Linked DNA regions of Homo sapiens: all the other regions are linked to region 3. The links are contacts of gene promoters, found by promoter capture Hi-C in blood cells and fetal thymus (Javierre and others, 2016). All regions are on one chromosome and are shown on one strand. Each heading gives the region's core, a stretch centred on a gene start or on the middle of the fragment in contact. The rest is flanking DNA. Distances are from core to core; before and after follow the strand shown. Region 1 overlaps IQCJ-SCHIP1 (IQCJ-SCHIP1 readthrough). Region 2 overlaps IQCJ-SCHIP1 (IQCJ-SCHIP1 readthrough). Region 3 holds the start of IQCJ-SCHIP1-AS1 (IQCJ-SCHIP1 readthrough antisense RNA 1).

Region 1 (4,155 bases), core at 445-2,944, 510 kb before region 3:
ATGTTAATCTCAAAGATCACAAGCCAGTCTGATATGATTTGGCTCTGTGTCCCTACCCAAATCTCACCTTGAATTGTAATGATCCCCACATGTCAAGGGTGTGACCAGATGTAGACAATTGAATCATGGGGCAATTTCCCCCATGCCGTTCTGTTGATAGTGAGTTCTCAGGAGGTCTGGTGCTTTTACATGGGGCTTCCCCCTTTACTCAGAAGAGGTGCCTTCTGCCATGATTGTAAGTTTCCTGAGACCTCCCCAGCCATGCAGAACTGTGAGTCAATTAAACCTCTTTTCTTAATAAATTACCCAGTCTCGGGTATTTCTTCATAGCAGCATGAAAACGGACTAATACACAGTCCATGGGGGAATCACTTAGCTTATATTAAGAAGAGGTTTCCGTTATCCTGAGCAGAAGATAATTTATTTTTTCTGATACTAATCACAGAAAATAACTTCCTTAGGCGAAACCTGAAATAGCTGCCTAATGACATTACATTAATTCTCTGAGTAGTACGTAACACTTGAATAATCTTTGTCCATTTCTTTATTTATAATCTTTGTCCATTTCCTATTCCCTTCCACAGTATATAAAACCCATGATGTGGTGCTCTCGCCTGCCTTGTGCCCCACAGCAGGGCCACTGCATTTGGCCATGCAGACTGTGCTGCACATCACTGACACCTTCACCTTGCAGTCATGCAAAGGACTGCTCTGGAGCTGTGCACGGCAGAGTCCCTGTTCAGAGTCTACAGCTGACCCTGGCACAGAATGGCCCCTCAAAAATCACACATTGAGTGCATGCAGTAGTAGTCAGCCTATTTATTATTCTCATCTAAAATATAAGATGAAAAATTGAAAGAATTTGTTGTCTCATAAATCAAAGTACATTTACCTGTGCAAACTAGTTTGTTTTGACTGATGAATTTTATTATTAAGTTGACTCTTTTAGGCCGGTTGAGTGCAGTCAAGTCTGTGAAAGTCAAACCAGTAAGGTAGGGAGACAGTCTCCATGGCTGGATTGAAGTTAAAGTTCAGGTCTCCTGATTCACTACATCACATTCTGTATGTTCTACTTCCCTTGGCACCAAAGCCAATTCCTTCAGACTCCTTGTGAGTTTCTGAGTCTGTGGACCATGATCCAACAGTAATCATGTGTGTGCTGTTTTTTGTTTTGTTTTGTTTTTTCAGCATTCAGCGAGCATGGCGAGAGTACCTGCAGCGGCAGGAGCCCCTGGGGAAGAGGAGCCCGTCCCCACCCTCTGTCTCCTCAGAGAAGCTGAGCAGCTCTGTCAGCATGAACACCTTCTCCGACAGCAGCACACCCGTGAGTGTCATGTTTCTTTTTCTATGTCCTGACTTGACATTCAACTGAAAGCCTAGACTTTGGTTCTAAGAGAGAAATCTTGGGATGTGAGCAGGTGGTTTGTGACAGTGAAGATCTATGTAGCTTATTTGCTACCCAGGAACCCATGGTGAGAGTTTTGTCACCTCAAAATAAAGACACAATTCATAAGCACAAAGTGAACTTTATCAAGTCTGGAGAAAATAGATTGCATTTATGTGTTCTCATTTCTCTATTATGGAGGTATCTTTTTTGCTTTTCTTTATAATAGCATATTTCTTTTAGTATGTGCTGTGTGTTTCTTTTATTGTGTGGTGCTAATATGATAGAAGATAAGATTGGTTATAAGGAGTAGAAAGAGAACTTTTACCAGAAGAATTGAAAGTGGTCACACACTCAGGGGTTGCAACTTAAATGTCTCCAGGGGCCAGGTAAGTCACCCTCATGACTGAGGTGGCTGAGCTGTGCCCCTGGCTACACGGAGAACATAGACCTCACCTGAAGGGCAGCGCACTTGGCTCCTGACAATGTGACACCATGTGGCGATACAGGCAGGCATGGCCAAATGTGATTTTCTTTCTTCAGGACATGTCAGAAATCTGCATTTTTAAGTGTTAGCAGCCAGTAAGAAAATTTAAAAGGTAAAGTAAGCATGCCTACAGACCACAATTGACCTACAGGCCACCAGTTTAAGAAATCTGAGATAGAGAGTTAAGGAATAAGGGAATCTGCTGGAAGTCTTTATTTTTAAAAAACACCAAAAGTGGGAAGAAATCAGTGATGAGGGATTTATGAACCAGGATTTTGTGGATTTAAGCATTGTGATAATTTGTAACCAGTCACTGAAATGCTGAAAAGTTAGAGAAATGAAGTAATTACACAAGTATATTACTTCCAAAAATTTTTCTTTTACTTTTGGTTATCATGTTTATTCTGTGGTAAAAAGGTTTCCCAACACTCAACGCAATGTATTCTTTTTGGGATCAGGTAAAAGTTACTGTATTTGAAATGTTTTCAGATGGTTGCATTGCATATTCTTCAATAAATGGTTTTGCCTAGATATGGATTTAAAGAGAGAGAATAAGTTGAGTTTATAGCAGTGCAAATAAAAGTGGCAGAAGATCCATTTTTAATTGACAGCAGAAATTGAACATTTAGTGAATCTTCACTTTTTAAAACAATTATTTAGGGGAATGGCTTATCCTAACTGACCTCACTATCACTAGAGGGCACTCGTGAACTACACTGGAAAATGCCAGGGCTTCTCGTTTGTGTCTAACTCATGATTTGTGAGGTAAAAACTAAAGTGAGAATTGAATGTTTAAGATGTCTTTGCTGTAAATGCCAATAGAAAGTGCAAATTAGATGACTTTTGGATTTTATTTGAATGATGGAAACTCAATATTAGAAATCACTTTGTGAGTTAAATGTTTGGATTTACTTTTTTTGTACCTTCTCACAGCCCCAATTCACGACAATTCTCAATTGCTGCTGAATCCAGTGATATCTAAAAGTTTTAGTGTTGCTTTAGGGTGCTTAACCTTTCGGTTTTATTGGACTCCTATGAGAATATATGTTTGTTTTATATTTGTACGGCTGTACTGCTTCGATTCTAGCATAAGTGTTTTGTGCATAAATGCATGTTCTTCCCTGTTCATGAGTCATCAACTTCATTTATATCTCTGCACAGCTTCACTAACAGTTCTACTTTATTTAATTTAGCTTAGCCTCCTGATTCCTTGTTGGTTTTTAGTAGAAGATATTTCCTCCCTCAAATGTTCCCAGAAATTTGTTCTCCCATAAGGTATATCAGACTGAATTGGGGGTGCATCCTGTAGCCCCACCATATCATCATCCTTTAGCTCTGTGCTCATGTGCTGAGGATGACTGTATTCAGTGAATGGCAGTCTGGCTCACCCATGATTGCCTATAAAAAGTGAGAATCAATGCCTGTAATCCCAGCACTTTGGGAGGCTGAGGTGGGCAGATCGCTTGAGGTCAGGAGTTTGAGATCAGCCTAGCTAACATAGCGAAACCCTGTCTCTACCAAAAATACAAAAATTAGCTGGGTGTGGTGGCATGCACCTGTAATCCCAGCTACTTGGAAGACTGAGGCAGGAGAATGAACGGCTTGAAACCCAGGAGGCAGAGGTTGCAGTGAGCCGAGATTGCGCCACTGCACTCCAGCCTGGATGACAGAGGGGAAAACAAAAAAAAAAGAATTAGAATCAGAACAGATTTTCAAAAAGAATTAGCTGTCAGAAAGCAAGCAGGCCCTGCCCAGAATTCTAATAGAAGTTATTGATTATAACAATGACTTAAATATTGATAATGACAGTGATGTGACATTAAATGTAAAAAATAAAATATGAAAATATAAGATGTTGGGATGCTTCCAAGTCTCTGGTTTGTCACTTAGGTAAAATATCCAAGTCACAGTTTAAAAGAAAACTTTATATGTAGTTGTTTGGAGTTTAGTGAGCTAAGCTTGTTTTATCTGCTGTGATCATCAGTTTGCCAGGGCCCCTGTTGGGAAGATTCATCCTTACATCTCTTGGAGGTTGCAGTCACCTGGGGACAAGTTGCCTGGTGGAAGGAAGGTGATTCTTCTCTACCTTGACCAGCTTGCCAGACCCACTGGGTTCATACATACTCTCAAGGAGCCCCAGATAGAAAGACTTGGTTTTCTCACCCTCCAGTGAATGGACCTCAAGTTTATGGAGGGAATAGGATGATCCCTGGCCTACACTGACTAAGCCTGTCATCAAGAAATGAGCTTCCTCTAACAACCATGAGTCCATTTGGAACTTCTG
Region 2 (4,355 bases), core at 416-2,915, 450 kb before region 3:
TTATAAGACAGAGTATTGTACATTGTGTCTGGAAAGACATTCAAGCATGCTTGCTTGGTTTTGGTCTTTCTAGACACGACATACAGTATATCACTTAGCAGGTTATGAGCCAGGGATCTCCTATATTAATATTTTCTAAGTCATAAGGAATCCCGTATTAGCTAGGGTAGGCTAGCTGCTATAAAAAGGAACTCTACAATCTCAGTGGCATAAGACCATAAATGTTCATTTCTCACTCACATCAATGTTCATCACAGATTGGTGAGAAAGTGGTGATCTATGGGCCATGGCTCAGTAACCTAGGCAGACAAAGGTTCCCTTCTTTTGAACTTGGCACAAGAAAGGAAGCCTTAGGTTAAAAACAGTCAGCCAAAAAAATGTCAGAAGAGAAAGTGTGTGGAGGATTGCATGGAATTTTGTGCCAATTTCGCAAGTGACGTGCATCGCCTCCTCCCACATAGGTCCAAAACTCAATTTCATTATCCCATCTAACTGCAAGGGGAACTGGGAACCATGTTCTGACTGTCTACTCAGGATGAAGTGGAAATGGGGTTTGGTGAGCACCTATCAATCTCTCTCTCTCTCCCCATTTTGGTCACCAAGCACTCATTTCACACTTCATCCTTTAGGCAGAATGAGGAAATCTGAATCCCTGCGTGGACTTCAGAGTCTAGAATCTCTGGGAGGTGCCTGGTCCAACTTAACAGCTTCAGAGGTGGCTTCTTACCACCTGCTGACCTATGAATTAAAAAGGCAAAAATTATCAACTCACCCTCCTCTGTACCTTCAGCAAACCATAGCAGAACAAGGATAAACACCATGGCTGGCATTTTTCAACAGGGAAAAACAGATAATCAATAGTCAGCTAGAAAGCATTTTTCTTACCTTTGCTTTTGCAGATCCTTGCATTATTCTTTAATTTCAATCACAAATGTCATATCCTTTCTTTTTTGCTATTATTCATCTTGAGAAATTGCCAAAGTATTTGTATCATATTAAGAACCTATTAAATCTGTTTGGTCTCTTGTAGCTCAGATTAGCAACTATGAAGCTACTTAGTAAAATACTCTATAGTCCTTATTATTTAAAGCATATAATGGAGTTAACAACAAAAAGCTTCTTTATCAGTGATTTATAAGGATTACAGAAGAAGATTTACGAGCTCTAGAAGAGTTGAGGAAATTACTTCTGAAGCAAGATACGCAGGAAAGAAAGAAATAGTACAAAAGCAAAGTTCTTTGGTTTCATGACATTTAAATTATTGTTAACTGGCATATATTGGTCTGTGCCTCCCTAAACTTGGGCACTTTCTGTTTGTTTTTCTGTTTAGTGCCTAGGGACCATAATGACAGCCACTACATTTTGTTGGCACAAATGCCACTGCTGCAGAGAACTGAGAAAATATGTGAAACTTTGATAATATTTGTTGAAGATTTTAAGTCCTGAAATAAGAATAGAAGTAAGTAGTTGTATGCAAACATTTTAAATTTCAAAATAATTTTAGATTCACAAGAGTTGCAATCCTAGTACAGAGAGTTTCTGTATACCCTGCATCCAGTTTCTCCTCATGTTAACATCTAATGTAGCCAGGTACAGTTATCAAAGTAAGAAATTCAAACTGGCATAATATAACTGACCAAACCACAGACTTCATTTAGATCATTATTTTTCCCACTAATTTTTTTTTTCTGTTCTGGCATCTAATCCAGGATCCCACATTAAATTCTGTTGGCATGTCTCCTTAATCTCCTCTAATCTGCAACTGGTCCTCATTATTGCCTTGTTTTCTATCACCTTAACTCCTTTGAAGAATACTATCAGGTATTTTGTAGAATGTCCCACAATTTTGGTTTGCCTGATGTTTTCTCAGGGTTAGACTTAGGTTATGAGTTTGGGAGAATACCACAGAGGTAAAGTGCGTGCTTTGCTGTGTCATATAAGGAGCCACATGATATTACCCTGACTTATCACTAGTGATATTATCTTTGTTCACTTGTATAAAGTGATATCTGTCAGGTTTCTTTATGGTAAAGGTACTATTTTTCTTTTTGTAATTAATAGATATTCAGGGAGATAGTTTGGGTCAGTGCTTGCATTTTATCTTTCACTGCAGACACCTGCTTTTCCCTAGGTTCTGAGTAGTTGCTGGCCCTACAACCTCAGCATTCTGATGGGTAGAAGTTTGTAAACTTACTGTTTGTCAGTAATTTTGTCGTAAGCTTGAGAATAGCACTGTTTCCATCTCAGCAGAAACTGGAAGTCCAGTATTTGGAGTTCAAATAAGTGCTCTTCATATTAACTGTTATTGTTAGTTGTCAGAAGATCAATACTCCATTTCATTCTAGAAGATCAGTCTTAGTCAAATTTCATCATCCCGTTTCTTCTGCTAGTGATGTGCTTTGGAATCAGTATGTGACTGACTTGTAGCCAATGAGATATGAGAGGAAGCATGCTCTTGTTTTCCTAAGGAAAAATTCTTTTCTCTTAATAGGGGAAAATAAGTAAAAGATAGTTCACCTTCTACCTCTGGACATAGGTATGTCTGGATATATTGCTTAAAACTGTGGCTACCATTTTGTTTCCAATATGAAACTGAGGCCAACACTGAAAACAGCAAAACAAAAGCAGGAAAGAACCTGGATCTTTGATCATATTACTAAGCTGTCATTCCAATCAACCATGGTACTGAGCCTACCTATGGATTTCTAGTTACGAGCAATAGTAAATTTCTTTATTGTTTAAGCCAATTTGAGTTTTGGTATTTCAATTACTTGGATCCCAATGGCTTATAGCTGATATCACCACTTTAAGGAAAGTATGATTTTTATGCAAATATATTACAGCCTATTTATCTGTTCTATTGTTAATGGGCATTTGGATTATTTCCAGTTTTATTGTTTAGGAACTGTGCGGCTATGAACATTCTAATAGATGTCTTTTGTTGGAATGTCCACATTTCTTTTGCATGTACATATAGCCAAGAATGAAATTGCTCAGTTAGAAACAATGTTCATGTTAGGTTTTAGTAGCTATTGCGAAAAGCTTTTCTAAAGGGTTTATATTAATTTACACTCTTACCAGAAATGTATGAGAGTTATAGTTGCTCCATGTCCTTGTCAACACTTGGTACTATCAGTCTTTTTTTTAGGACTTCTTTTTTTTTTTTTTTTTTTGAGATGGAGTCTCACTGTGTCACCCAGGCTGGAGTGCAGTGGCACAATCTGGGCTCACTGCAAGCTCCGCCTCCCGGGTTCACGCCATTCTCCTGCCTCAGCTGCCTGAGTAGCTGGGACTACAGGCACCCACCACTATGCCCGGCTAATTTTTTGTATTTTTTTGTATTTTCTTTCTTTTTTTTTTTTTTTTAGTAGAGACAGGGTTTCACTGTGTTAGCCAGGATGGTCTCGATCTCCTGACCTCATGATCCACCCACCTCAGCCTCCCAAAGTGTTTAGGACTTCTAATGCTTGTATAAGTATAGTAGTATCACATTGTGACTAATGATTTTTATATATATATTCATAATTATATCAGTTCTAAAGTAATGTCTATATACTTTATCATTTTAGAACCATAGCCTAAGTATAAATTGTTGGGAAACCATTAGAAGACAGTTAATAGTCATGCAAACTTAAGTAGAAGGTAAGAGAAATAAGAAGGGAGAGATATTAAACTTAAGTGTATGTTGTTCTATAAATAAGCTCTAGTCTATTTCTAAGGGTAGGTTTTGTTTTGTAGAGTAGAACAGCAAGATTAAAACAAAAGACAGAAACTGCTCCAACTTATGACATGTTAGACATAAAACATACTCATCAGTAGGAGAGACATAAAAAGGCACAGTGAAAAGAAGGGTCTTCATCAAGTCACTTATTTTTTTGTCGGGGAGGGGGTAGGGGGCTTATCTGTAAAGTGAGGAAATGGAGTTAGAAGATTTTCCTACTTTCTTCACATTCTTTTAATGTAAATATTTCTTGTCATCCACATCAGACCGTGAGACTAAGTCTGAGGCAAGGAGGGCTCCTAAGGCTCAAATCATTGCCTATGACCCCTGGAGATCAGGTACCTAGATGGTAGGATTTCTTTGGTTCTTTGGTTCAAATCCATATTAGTCAGGGTTCTCTTAGAGCGACAGAACTAATAGGATATATATATATATCTATAAAGGGAAGTTTATTAAGTATTAACTTACACGGTCACAAGGTTCCACCATAGGCTGTCTGCAAGCTGAGGAGCAAGGAGAGCCAGTCCGAGTCTCAAAACTGAAGAACTTGGAGTTTGATGTTCGAGGGCAGGAAACATCCAGCACAGGAGAAAGATGTAGGGTGGGAGGCTAGGCCCATCTCTCTTTTTCACAT
Region 3 (4,241 bases), core at 339-2,838:
TTCTGGTCATTTCCTCTACAAGTTACACAGAGAAATTTAGATTTCATTGTGTCAAAGCAAGGATGTATACAGAAAAAAGGGAGAAGGAGGTAGCATTTGAGGTTAATGGTGGATTTTTTCATGTTTTGGTTTGTGTTTGAACAAAATTACTAGTCAGTGTTGGTTTAGAATACTGTTTTTCAAACAGTAAGTTTCCCATGAAATCACCTTAGCATTTAAAAAAATGAAATAAAATAGAATGTATGATAGTGTATTGCAGGGAGTCATAGTAAAGTTGGTAATTTTTAAAACTTTAGTTTTATATGTATGGTGGGTTGCAACATAAAGTTTACTTCTCACTATGGGTCGCTGTTATAAAAGATTGAAAAGCACTGATTTAAATCCTGTTTAGTGCTGCCTGGAGTACGTAAGGGAATTTATGACCATGAGGACAGAAACCGGAGAAGAACAAAGGAGCCGTGTGGAAGAGAAGGCCTGCCTTGAAGGAACTGTTCAAATCCAATGATATTTTACTCCTCTTTAAAATGTCTTGTATGAATATATTTAAGTGGCATTAATACACACCACTAGGAATGGGGTATACAATGAAAAGGGGATAGCTTCTCTTCACCAAGTAAGCCTATTCCTACTTCAGGGCTTTTGCCCTTCTGTAACCTCTGCTTGGAAGCAAGTGTCTGGTTCCTTCTCATCATTCCAGACTCAGTTCAACTCTCACCAGCTCAGAGAAGCTGTCCCCCACCACCCTTCCTAAAGTAAAGTAACAGCACTGCACCCCAACTCCAGCACTCCTGGTGTATTGTTTTCTTAGTGCTTGTCACTATCTGACATTATCTTATTTAGTCCTCTATTTTTGGTCCCTCTGAAATGTAGGCGGGAGTTCTTGCCTGTTTTTTAACTCTATAACCTATTGCCTGGAACATGCCTGGGATGGAGTAGGTTCTCAAATATTGAATGAATGAATGAATGAATGTTTATGACAACAACACAACCCATACCTAATCCAACTCCCATTTTACAGTTGAGAAAATTGAAGCCCAGAGAGGTTAAGTGATTTGCCTCAGACCCAGTGAGAAACTTATGAACAGGGTTTTGTTCTTTCTTGTGACACCAGACTAGTTCCCCGCCCCCTTTTTTAATGCTTAAAATAATTTGAAATAAAAGGAAAGGAAGGAGCTCCCACCTCCCTGAAACTTAAAGGGTTTCCTATTGACAAGTCTCTTATTGCACTTCCTTAGAATTAAGGACATAAGTAAACTGGGAAATCATCAAAACCCCCTTACTTATGAGTCTTCTTTTGTAGACAGGGTTTTGTATTGTTTTGTTTCAATGACATACTATTGGGTTCTGCAGAGCAGGGTAGTGACAGAATCCATGTCTCCTCACTCCACATCCAGTGCTCTTTCCTTCCTCTTAGTTGTGGTGATGCACGCAGAAGGATGACTGAGGTCTCAAAAATGGGATGACAATCAGCTATCCCTAATTCAGATAAGATTGAGAGGCAAATTTAAAAATGCACAATGTTTAGGTGGGATTTAAAACCTAGCACTGACCTTCACTTTGCGATGGGTTTAGAAAACTAATCTCTCTCTTGGTATCTGTGGAGGATGATGAGCTTGGATGCTGTCAGGAACTATCTTTGGTGTCACAGCATGGAAGGGCCTGGGGAGTCCTGATGGAAACACTCTAGTGACTGGATCCTTGCTCCATCTCAGAGCTGGGGGCTCAAGACAGACCTCCAGCACCTGGTCCAGCCCTCCACTGTGATGTCATCACCTGGGACAGCCATATCCCCAGTAGTTCGCATTGTGCCTGGCACAAATAAATGCTTGAAACATGCAGAGAGGGTGAGGGGCTCTACCCAAAAACCAGAACTACTCCCAGAAGTGCCCCTTCCATGGGCAGCCCCTGCTCATCTGGTGTCAGTGTGCTTCTCACAGTCCTGCCCTGGGCTTGTATTCCGTCTTGTGCGTGAACACTCTTAATAAATTCAAGGGCCATAGATGGAGTAAAGAAAGGTTCTGGGGTTGGTGCCTTTGATGTCAGATTAGGAGTCCTGCTTGCAGAAGTTCATGTTTCTCTTAAATTCTTATCTTCTTGCCTACTCTAACTCTGGTGCACAGGACTGGACAGTTTTCCCTCTTATGAGAGCGGGCCACAAACAGTCGGCTTTCTCTCTTCTGCTTCTCCAGGACCTTAGTGCATCACTGTAGCCCTCTTGCTCCTGTTCAAAAGGCTCTGTGGACCTGTTGCCAAGTGGGGTGGGAGGGGGGGCACTGCCTCAGTGTACTCTTCCTCCTAAATGGAATATAATTACACATCTTTTTCTCTGTGTTTGTCCCTGAGGCTTCCTGTCCTTCATGGGACGTGTTCCTCCATGTCTAGCCTGTTCCCTGTCTCTGGAGACTCAGCCTATTTTGACGCTTTTCTTTAAAAATAGCTTTATTGGCCAGGCATGGTGGCTCAGGCCTGTAATCCCAGCACTTTGGGAGGCCAAGGCAGGCGGATCACCTGAGGTCAGGAGTTCGAGACCAGCCTGGCCAACGTGGTGAAACCCCATCTCTACTAAAAATACAAAAATTAGCCGGGCATGGTGGCGGGCGCCTGTAATCCCAGCTACTCGGGAGGCTGAGGCAGGAGAATCGCTTAAACCCAGGAGGCGGAGGTTGCAGTGAGCCAAGATCACACCATTGCACTCCAGCCTGGGTGACAAGAGTGAAGCTTCGTCTCAAAAATTAAATAAAATAAAATAAAAATAGCTTTATTAAGGTATAAGTGACATACATCAACTGTACATAGTTAAAATGTACAATTTGATGAGTTTTGACATATGTATGGCATATGTATGTGTTTTGACACACCTGTGAAACCATCATGAACATCAAGATAATGAACATATTTAGCATCCCCAAAAGTATCCTTGCACTCCTTTGTAATACCACCATCTTGTCCCTAGGCAACCAACTGATCTGATTTCTATGTTATAGATTAGTTTATGCCTTCTAAAATTAACATAAGTGGAATCACAGTATGTGTGGATTTTTGTGTGGCTTCTTTAACTCAGAAAGTGATTATTTTGAGATTCATCCATGTTATTGTATATATCAGTGGTTCGTTTGAACTCTTGCTGAGTAGTGTTCCATTTTGTGGATATACCATTTTCATCTGTTGTTATACATGTGCATTGTTTCTAGGTTTTGGCTATTACAAATAACATTGTTATGGACACATGTATACACTTTATCTATTTATTTTTGGGGTGAAGTTTTGCTCTTGTCACCCAGGCTGGAGTGCAATGATGCTATCTTGGCTCACTGCCACCTCCGCCTGCTCAGTTCAAGTGATTCTCCTGCCTCAGCCTCCTGAGTAGCTGGGATTACAGGCAGCCACCATCATGCCTGGCTAATTTTTGTATTTTTGTAGAGACGGGGTGTCACCATGTTGGTCAAGCTGATCTTGAACTCCTGACCTCAGGTAATCCGCCCACCTTCGCCTCCCAAAGTGCTGGGATTACAGGTGTGAGCCACTGTGCCGGGCCTGAATATACACTTTCATTTCTCTTGGGTAAATAACTAGAAATAAGAACGGCTTGATCACGTGGTAGGTGTATGTTTACCTGTGTAAGAAGCTGCCTGTCTTCCAAGGAAGTACTATTTTACTTTGCCATCACATGATGCTTAAATCACTGAAAGAGGTTTCCCCTTTTCCCATTGCTCTATTCCATCTGCATCCTGCTTTCCAGGACACCTCCCTTCAGGTGGCTGGGTGGCTGCTCCCTCCCTCTTAAGAGAAAACAACAAGAGAGCAAGGAGATCACTTGTCACATCCAACCAGTCTTTACTCCTGTTGTTTAAAAAAGGAAAGGAATCATTTTTAAATTAGAGAAGAGCTCTAGCTGTAGACTCAACACATTTTAAGTGCAGTTTTATTATTTTTTAGTGCCTCTGACAGGTGCATTTTCCTCATTTAATGAGAAGATAAGAACAATTTTAATTGACACGTTAATTGAAAGCAAATTCTTCTGACGAAGTTATTTCCAAAGTACTTGAAAATAATGTGTCTTTTTATTTGTTTATACTATTAGCTAGTAGCACACTTTTTAAATTACCTACATTTCTTCCTAGAATGGTACTAATTATAGGTTATTTTCAATGTATTATTCTGTAAGAATTACAGCCCAGTTACTTCTTCCCCATCAATGACACACTACTAAAGTAGCTTGAATGGCTGAGTAGTTTATTTCC

Evidence for each region. Contacts are between HindIII fragments. The CHiCAGO score rates a contact against its expected background, and 5 or more counts as called.
Region 1: a fragment that was not itself captured here is called in contact with the fragment with the promoter of IQCJ-SCHIP1-AS1 in region 3 in 3 of 17 cell types (erythroblasts, M2 macrophages and endothelial precursors); the score reaches 6.1 in erythroblasts.
Region 2: a fragment that was not itself captured here is called in contact with the fragment with the promoter of IQCJ-SCHIP1-AS1 in region 3 in 1 of 17 cell types (erythroblasts); the score reaches 5.4 in erythroblasts.

Annotation. Positions count from the first base shown.
Region 1 is chr3:159,261,360-159,265,514 of GRCh38, forward strand. It overlaps IQCJ-SCHIP1 (IQCJ-SCHIP1 readthrough), which reads left to right. Exons shown (of 10, transcript NM_001414413.1): 4 at 1,189-1,324. IQCJ (IQ motif containing J) reads left to right here. Exons shown (of 4, transcript NM_001042706.3): 4 at 1,189-2,388. The coding sequence ends at 1,372. Among named protein-coding and RNA genes, the nearest start is that of SCHIP1, 9.8 kb to the right of the region's middle. The HindIII fragment of the contact is 4,266 bases long and covers 1-3,827 here.
Region 2 is chr3:159,312,044-159,316,398 of GRCh38, forward strand. All of the region lies in intron 4 of IQCJ-SCHIP1 (IQCJ-SCHIP1 readthrough), which reads left to right. All of the region lies in intron 1 of SCHIP1 (schwannomin interacting protein 1), which reads left to right. Among named protein-coding and RNA genes, the nearest start is that of MIR3919, 32 kb to the left of the region's middle. The HindIII fragment of the contact is 1,103 bases long and covers 1,115-2,217 here.
Region 3 is chr3:159,767,024-159,771,264 of GRCh38, forward strand. IQCJ-SCHIP1-AS1 (IQCJ-SCHIP1 readthrough antisense RNA 1) reads right to left here and starts at 1,589. Exons shown (of 3, transcript NR_121669.1): 1 at 1,551-1,589; 2 at 1,281-1,476. All of the region lies in intron 4 of IQCJ-SCHIP1 (IQCJ-SCHIP1 readthrough), which reads left to right. All of the region lies in intron 2 of SCHIP1 (schwannomin interacting protein 1), which reads left to right. The HindIII fragment of the contact is 15,903 bases long and covers 1-2,716 here.